Linked DNA regions of Homo sapiens: region 2 is linked to region 1. The links are contacts of gene promoters, found by promoter capture Hi-C in blood cells and fetal thymus (Javierre and others, 2016). All regions are on one chromosome and are shown on one strand. The core of a region is centred on a gene start or on the middle of the fragment in contact, and the rest is flanking DNA. Distances in the headings are between cores, read along the strand shown.

What was found. The method cuts DNA at HindIII sites, captures the fragments that hold promoters and counts their contacts. A CHiCAGO score of 5 or more calls a contact.
Region 2: a contact is called between a fragment that was not itself captured here and the fragment with the promoter of BTNL9 in region 1, in 1 of 17 cell types (monocytes). The highest score is 5.0, in monocytes.

What each region holds. Positions count from the first base shown.
Region 1 is chr5:181,038,014-181,042,230 of GRCh38, forward strand. BTNL9 (butyrophilin like 9) reads left to right here and starts at 2,253. Exons shown (of 11, transcript NM_152547.5): 1 at 2,253-2,419. The HindIII fragment of the contact is 10,345 bases long and covers 919-4,217 here.
Region 2 is chr5:180,703,432-180,707,690 of GRCh38, forward strand. No RefSeq gene overlaps it. Among named protein-coding and RNA genes, the nearest start is that of LINC02222, 21 kb to the left of the region's middle. The HindIII fragment of the contact is 7,706 bases long and covers 1-4,259 here.

The sequences.
Region 1 (4,217 bases), core at 1,003-3,502:
CTTGTCTGTGTACCTCATGACCTCATTCTTCCTGGAGGCAGGACAAGAACTCAGGTGCCACAGAGGTTTCTGGGAAGAAAATTGACACCCAAAAATCCCACACAAGGACAGATGAGGGTCCATTCTCTCCAGTGGCACCTATAGTCCGCCAGGGGTTCAGCACCTACCTTCATTTTGGATCTGAGCCTTTATGCATTTACTGGGTCTTGGAATGGGAGGTTCGGCTGGCAGGGACAGCCGCTGTCTACATCTTTCCTACTGCATGATGCGCCTGATATGCAGGCGGTGGTGGCAGGTGGGGTCCCCCTCCCACATCCCACCAGGGCTGTGTCTAGGAGCCACAGAAGTGGACTCTGCCCATTTCTCTCTCTCTTTGCATTTCTGCTGTGACAATCTCACCTCTCCCCAGGCAGCATGGAGGAATCCAACCTAAGGGCAATGAAAAGTTTAGGCCATGTTCTCGTTTTCGAGCAGCCCCTCTCTACAAGTGCAATTTTCCTTCTCTTTCACTTCCCTATGTGGCATGCAAGGGCCTCTGCAATGTGGTCCCATCCACTTCTGTTCAACCTTCCCTTCCACTAGTGAGCCACACACTGGTCTGGCTAACCCCTAGCCTTTTCCTACCTCCCACATGCTAATCACCTCCCTCCACGAAGAATGTCTGTCCTCGCAGGCTCTGTCCTCCCGGGCTGCCCATGGCTTCCCTGATCCTACTGTTTATGCAGCATCCATCTTAAGTATACCCTGTCCTTGAGCCCTCCTCTGTCTCCCCAGGCCCGGGGAACTGCACCCACTGTTTGAGCTCACTGTTCAGCCCCTTTTGCTGTCCTAGGGACATCTGTTCACATTAATAAGCCTGGGTGCCCAGTCTCACCAGCCTGTCTGAGCACAGACAGTCACCTCCAGGTCCATGCCTGAAGCTTGCTGGCTCCCGTCTCCCACCCATGTAGCGCCCTGTCACCTGCAGAGGCCCCTCTACAAACACAGGCACTTCTGGGAGTCCCTGGGGTGTGCTACTGAGGCAGAAAATTTAAAAATACATATGCCTTCATTCACTCCAAGAAAAGTAACAGGCAAGGCAAGGGTTAAAAAGTAAAGGACAAGTTTTCCTCTGCCTATAGCAAGCCCACTGCAAGGACAGTTATAACAGTGTCCAGAAAGCCAAGGCCAAAGGAATGGGCTCCAGATACCCGCCGCCCCACTTCCAGAGCAAGGTTGAAGGAAAAAGAGAGAAAGACAAATTCTTTTACTGTTACTGTTTTCCCAGGCTTCTTAAGCATGATTGTGTTTTACAAATGTCTGTACTTAGCCAGTTCTTGTTTTTCTTTCAATGCAGCTACAAAGTCACCCGCTGTGCAAGGCCACAAGTTATGCTATGCTATAGATTATGTGACCTATCATGATTAGCTGCTTTTGTTTTATTTATTGTAAGTCCACTTACAAAAACCCCGCTCTGTCTTTGTTTAATGCTCAGCTTTTTGGATGTGAGTCCACTGAGCCGGTGTGTACCTAAAATAAACAATCCTCCTGTTCTTCACATCGGTCTCTCCGGTCCTCAGTTTCCCACAACACTGCATGTGCTTGAGCTGCTCGTGCCTCAGCTCTGGCCTGTTCCCTGGAGGGGACGTCAGTGTGGGCTGCAGCTGGGTGGCTGGTGCCTCAGTCCGCTAATGCCCAAGTTGCACCATGGCCTACAGTAAGATGGGGTGGGCTGGGCTGGGGTAGTGCTTGCTGCTTCTTTTCTGACCTCTTCTCCACTAGAGAAATCCCAATCCAGCACCCTCCTGCATTTCTAAGTTGCACGTGAACAGGTTTTGCAGGTTGCCTCACGACAATGCCCCCAGGATTTGTTCCTTACTGACCTTGTCCTGAGGAGAAGGTTATGGTGGGTTAAAAATTGGTCATCAGCCCCTTCCTCGTGGTTAGTTAGTGGAGACTGCAGTCTACTCTCTTTCACTGTTCGGGGACTGCTACCCTGCCTCCTTGGAGTCCGAGCTTCACTGGCACAAAGACCCTGAACCCAGCTGGAGCGTTTTCTCCTCACTTTGAGCCTCTGCAGCTGTCGCTCTCTACAAAGCTCTCAGATACCTTTCCCCTCCTTCTGTGACCCTGGAGAGATATTTTACATGGGAATTCAAGATTTTTCTCAGAGACAGGATGTGACGACTTCCTTGTTTTGTTCTATCCATCTTGGTTTCCATAGCCAAGGGCAGAGCAAACGGCATATATCTTAGGGTGGAAGATGGATAAATAATTCTGTCACACGTGCCCTGGCCTCTGGAGCTCAGCTGCCAGTCCACGTCTAGGGAATCTTAGCATCTGGGACCAAGACACTTTACAGCAATCATCACCCTTTGCAGAGGAGGTGAGCTCACCAGGACTCATCTGCCATTTCAGACCTTTTGCTGCTACCTGCCAGGTAAGTGGCTCATTCTCAACAGCTGCCTACACCTCCATCTTTCAGAAACGGCAATCAGAAAATGAAGGTGGGAGGCTTTGGGAAGGCGTACAATTAGTGGCACCATTTTATTATCCGAGCTTGGCCGCAGCATGGGATGTTTCGAGTGTGGCCAAGAGGAGATGTCCACGCCCGTTTAGGTGGGCCGCATCTCAGGAGGCAGGATCCTGATACATCCCATTGCCCCCACCAGACGAAAAAGATTTCAAGCCTCATTGCGGTTCCCTTCTTGGGGCAGTCCATCTTCCTTAGAGACTAAGAGGGTGGAAATCCTCTTGTGGACCTATCGAAATCAAACCAGCGCAGGCAGTGAGCACTAGCTGGGGTCTGCCGGGGGGAAGGGCATTGCAGGGGGTGTCGGGGAGGCCCGTGGGAGAGGGCCAAGGCCCCACTGACACCTGCGGACTTGCAGCTTGGGGAGTGGAGGACAGGAGACAGGCAAAATTCACCAGTTACACAGCTTACAGAAGTAGCAAAGCAAAGACTATACTTCAGGGATAATTTCTGTACTTTGTTACTAGAGAAGTTTTCCACTCTGGGACCCCACAGTCTCCGCAGACATATGCAGAGCAAAAAATACTTCCTGTGTTTGGGAGAGCAAGAGACATGGCATTTATTAATAACATGGATTTTCCTGCCAGGTTTCATAACGTGGTCATTTAAGTGTGAAATGTAGTCTTAAAATTATGTTAGAGAATCCCCAAGGTTTTGCTCTGCCCCCATGGAAACACTGGGATCGCTCAGGACGCCAACAGCTGCATAGCAGGCGAGGGACTCCTGTGGGAGGACGTGGCCTGTGGACACTGCCAGGTTCGGAGATGTCCTTGGGAGATTTACTATTTGTCAGGAAGATAGTGTTAAGTTCAGGCAAATAATTATATGTGTGGACAGAATCTGAAATTCACCAATAGAGTAAGTAAGAGTGAGAGATTGTGAATGTGTAATACAAATGGAAAAGCAGGTTTTATTTTGTTAAGTTATTCACCAGGGAACCAACTGAAGTTCCTTCTAATCCTCTTTTTCTCCATTCTTGCTTTGCTGAAAGTTGGAGAAAAGGACATGTGTAGAGAAAATGGGATGCTTCAGGGTGGCTCAGAGGACACCAATCCATAGTGATTCGCCTGAGTTTGTCAGGTGGAAGCAGTGATTTTTAAGAGTCACTGATTAAAAACAAACAGTCCTAAGTGTATTAGGGAGATGCCATTTATTTGTGAATCAAAAACTTTTCTCAGTCTCTTAAATTATGGTTTTCCTGTAATAAGAATGATTTATATTTTTAGTGAAAAGTTGTTTTCCTTTCAAATACAGACTTTTTAAAAAGACTTAGTTTGAGTAAGTACCTTTTCATTTGATGCTTTTCTTGTGCCTAACCTTAGGAAATCCAGAATAGTATTTGACAGAAATTATGTTTTCAACTTGCCTTTGACATCTGTCCCACTGCATTTTGCTTTAAAATTCTTTATTTAACAATAAATTATCTAAAAAAATAACAGTAGCAAAGCAAAAAGTACTCATCTTTAAAGACAGACTCGACGGAGGGACCGGAAATCAGAAAAACATCAGGGTTGTTTAGGAATTGCAGGTGCAGGAGGAGAGAACAGGAGTGGGGCGGGCTGGGGGCAATGAGAGAGCAAGAAGAAAAGAAAAATAAAAAGAGAAGGAGAAGAAAGAAATGGGCTTTTGCTGGGTGCAGGCAGTGACATTTCTCAGGACCCCTTATTTCTCCCTGTGCCTTCCGGAGGGAGCAGCCCAAGGCTCC
Region 2 (4,259 bases), core at 1,094-3,593, 330 kb before region 1:
AAAGACACATGCACATGTGTGTTTATTGCAGCACTATTCACAATAGCTAAGACCTGGAATCAATGCAAATGTCCAACAATGATAGACTGGATAAAGAAAATGTGGCACATATACACCATGGAATACTATGCAGCCATAAAAAGGGTGAGTTCATGTCCTTTGCAGGGACATGGATGAAGCTGAAAGCCATCATTCTCACCAAACTAACACAGGAACAGAAAACCAAATACCGCATGTTTTCACTCATAAGTGGGAGTTGAACAATGAGATCACATGGACACAGGGAGGGGAACATCACACACGGGGACCTCTCAGGGGGTTGGGGGCAAGGGGGAGATAGAATTAGGAGAAACACCTAATGTAGATGACGGGTTGATGGGTGCAGCAAACCACCATGGCACGTGTATTCCTATGTAACAAACCTGCACGTTCTGCACATCTATCCCAGAACTTAAAGTATTAAAAAAACCTGGAAAATGTGTTGTAATCACTATGATCAAAAACCTCTGACCACTGTCCTCTGACTACATCAGGAATCCTTGGGAAGGCATCAGCGGAGCTCCACAATACAGTCCCCGCTTATCTCCTTGGCACCTTCTTTTGTTACTTAGTTAAGACAACCTCTCTCTTCGGATGACCTAATTTGTTTGTAATCTCCCACCACAGCGTGTGTGTTGTGATCCCCCTTTTGATAATGCCACTGCCTCACCTTTAAAAGCCCTCCCTCACTCTATGGAGCCACGCCCCCAGCTACTTTTCTGTATAATTGCCTCTTCTCTAAGCGGATACATCTTAAATTTACTATATCCAGATTCCTTTATGCACTTTAAACACCTTAGAAAGCACAGATAGCAAAAACAGAGTATTATAATTTCTCCGAAATTGATCCCTACGTAAAAACTAAAGCCAATTGTAAAATGCATTGCTGTGGACGTGAATTTGTTTCTCCATATTCCTTTTTAAAATCCTCCTACTGCTCCCAAGTTTGTCTTCCTAGATCAAAAGAAAATGCAGGATTGCCTCAGACCAACAGATATTCCAGAACCTGCCCAATCTACTCTTGGTCAGCATACAAAAATACACGTGCCCTCCAAGGAAATGCTGAGCTGGTGATCACTGATTAGGCTGAGATTCTTTCTGTAACAAAGGTTTACATGCTACATCATGGTGACTGCTACAACTCTATCTTCCCTAGAGAGCTGGCTTTTTGCCCAGAAATGAGGGATGCTTTTAACATTAGTAGGACAGAAGTACCTAACTTACTGTCATGTTATGTTGACATATTGATCTGTTCTATTGATTTAATTATAAACCTGTGTTTTTCTTATCAATAGTCACTCACTATAATTAGTAAGATTATCTAGGACAGAGCTGCCCAGTGGAAACAATGTAAGCAAAGTATGTCATTAAAATTTTTCTAATAGCCACATTTTAAAAGGTTAAAAAAGTAAATTAACAATATATCTTATTTAACTCAGTATACCCAAACTATTAATTCAACATGTTTGAATACAAAAAATTAATGAGGTATTAATTTCATACTGTCCAAAATTTAGCATGTATTTTATACTTATTGTACATTTCAAATCAGATGCTAATTTTTTATTGGCAATACTTCATCGGTATTTAGATTTTATAATAATTACACTCCAAAGCATATATTTACTTATCCAAGTTGTTCCAAGCACACTTTGTTTTCCAATAGCTGAACTGAGAATCAATTTTTTAACTTAGGTTAAATTAAATAAAATTAAATTTCCCTTTCAGTCTCAGTAGCCACATTTCAATTTGTTAAGTATTGGACAGCACAGCCACACATCTTGTTCCCTGAATGAGAATAAATGAGGTAGTCTGCACACCTAGCTCTTTTTTCTGGAGATATGTAGCTAATTTATTTTCTTGGAACACACTGCTGAGCCATCCTTTTAAGGTACACGTGCAGGTTTGTTACATGGGTATATTGTGTGATGCTGATGTTTGGGCTTCTATTGAACCCATCACCCAAATAGAGAACATAGCATTCAATAGGTAGGGTTTTTTTGTTTGTTTGTTTGTTTGTTTTGTTTTTTTGAAATGGAGTCTCGCTCTGTCACTCAGGCTGGAGTGCAGTGGCGCGATCTCGGCTCACTGCAAGCTCCGCCTCCCGGGTTCACACCATTCTCCTGCCTCAGCCTCCTGAGTAGCTGGGACTACAGGCGCCCACCACCACGCCCGGCTAATTTTGTTTTTGTATTTTTAGTAGAGACGGGGTTTCACCGTGTTAGCCAGGATGGTCTCGATCTCCTGACCTTGTGATCCACCCGCCTCGGCCTCCCAAAGAATAGGTAGTTTTTTAACACTTCTCCCCTTCCCGCCTCCCCCCTTCTAGTAGTCCTCAGTGTCTATTGTTACCATCTCTATGACCCTGTGTACCCAACGTTTAGTTCCCACTTGTCAGCGAGAACATGAGACATTTGGTTTTCTGTTTCCGGGTCAGCTCACTAAGAATAAAATCCTCCATCTCCATCCATGTTGCTGTAAAGGACATGATTTCATTCAGGTTTTTTTTTTTTACAGCTGTATAGTACCACATTTTCTTTATCTAGTCCACGGGTGATGGACACCTGGGTTCATGCCATGTCTTGGCTGTTGTGAATAGTTGAGCCCTCCTTTTACAGTTATTTTTGTTTTTGTATGAACACGAGCACAAGTTACCTGCAACGCTTCCTTTCTACCTGGTGTTCACATAAGATCTCGGGAGCTGATCAGTTGTTCCTGTTGTTAATACTTTTCCTTATTTCCACAGGACTTTTGTTTTTTAAATTTTAATTGATATGGGTACGTAGTAGGGGTGTGTGTGTGTGTGTATGTGTGTATATATACACACACATATATATGGAGTACATGAGACGTTTTGCTACAGGAATGTAATGCGTAATAATCACAGCATGTAAGTAAAATGGGGCATCTATCCCTTCAAGTATTTATCCTTGGTGTTACATACAATCCGATTGCAGTCTTTTAGTCATTTTTAAATGTGCAATTAAATTATTATTGACTCTAGTCTCCCTGTTGTGCTGTCAAGTTCTAGGTCTGATTCATTCTTTTAACTATTTTTTGTACCCATTAACTTGGCTTTTGCGTTTCCTTGTTTTGCTTTATCTTTCCAGCTCATATAGGTGGTGATATACATATTATATTTCTAAAAAACATCTACTTAACAGAAGTAACAAAGTACCTGCACATGTGTGTATACTGTATCTATATATATGTGAGGAAAAACACATTCTTGCTTATTAAAATCAATTTGAAAAGTTAAACATGTCATTTGAAATCCACCCTTCCTTTGGATTACACTACACTTCTGATGCTTTCTATAAACCTGAGTATCTTTATGAACTCAGTATCATTATGAACTCAGGGTCTTGTCCCAGTTAACCTGAGTTATCTTTATTATCGTTACTCTCAATCATCACAACGTGGCCAGTGGAAATTCCCTTAAGGTGGCTCATTGCTTTTTGAGGACTGTCACTGATTCTCTTACAAACTTCACTGGATATACCTTGCTGTCCAAATATTTTCTTTCAGCCTCAAAAAACTGGAATTAACTACTCTCCAAAGACTTTGAGTTTACTTTAGTAGAGAATAGTATTAAGAACAAAATATGGGGCCGGGCGTGGTGGTTCACACCTGTAATCCCAGCACTCTGGGAGGCCGAGGCGGGTGGATCACGAGGTCAGGAGATCGAGACCATCCTGGCTAACATGGTGAAACCCCGTCTCTACTAAAAAAATACAAAAAATTAGCCAGGCGCGGTGGTGGGTGCCTGTAGTCCCAGCTACTCGGGAGGCTGAGGCAGGAGAATGGCGTGAACCCGGGAGGCAGAGCTTACAGTGAGCCGAGATCGGGCCACTGCACTCCAGCCTGGGCGACAGAGCAAGACCCCAACTCAAAAAAAAAAAAACAAAATATGGGGCCGGGCGCAATGGTTCAGGGCTGTAATCCCACCACTTTGGGAGGCCAAGATGGGCAGATTACTTGAGGTCGGGAGCTTGAGACCAGCCTGGCCAACATAGTGAAATCCCATCTCTACTATAAAATTCAAAAGTTAGCCGGGCCTGGTGGCAGGCGCCTGTAATCCCAGCTACTCGGGAGGCTGAGGAAGGAGAATCACTTGAACCCAGGAGGCGGAGGTTGTTGTGAGTGGAGATCATGCCACTGCACTCCAGCCTGGGCGGAAGAGGGAGACTCCTACAGAAAAAAATAAAAAATAAAGAAAC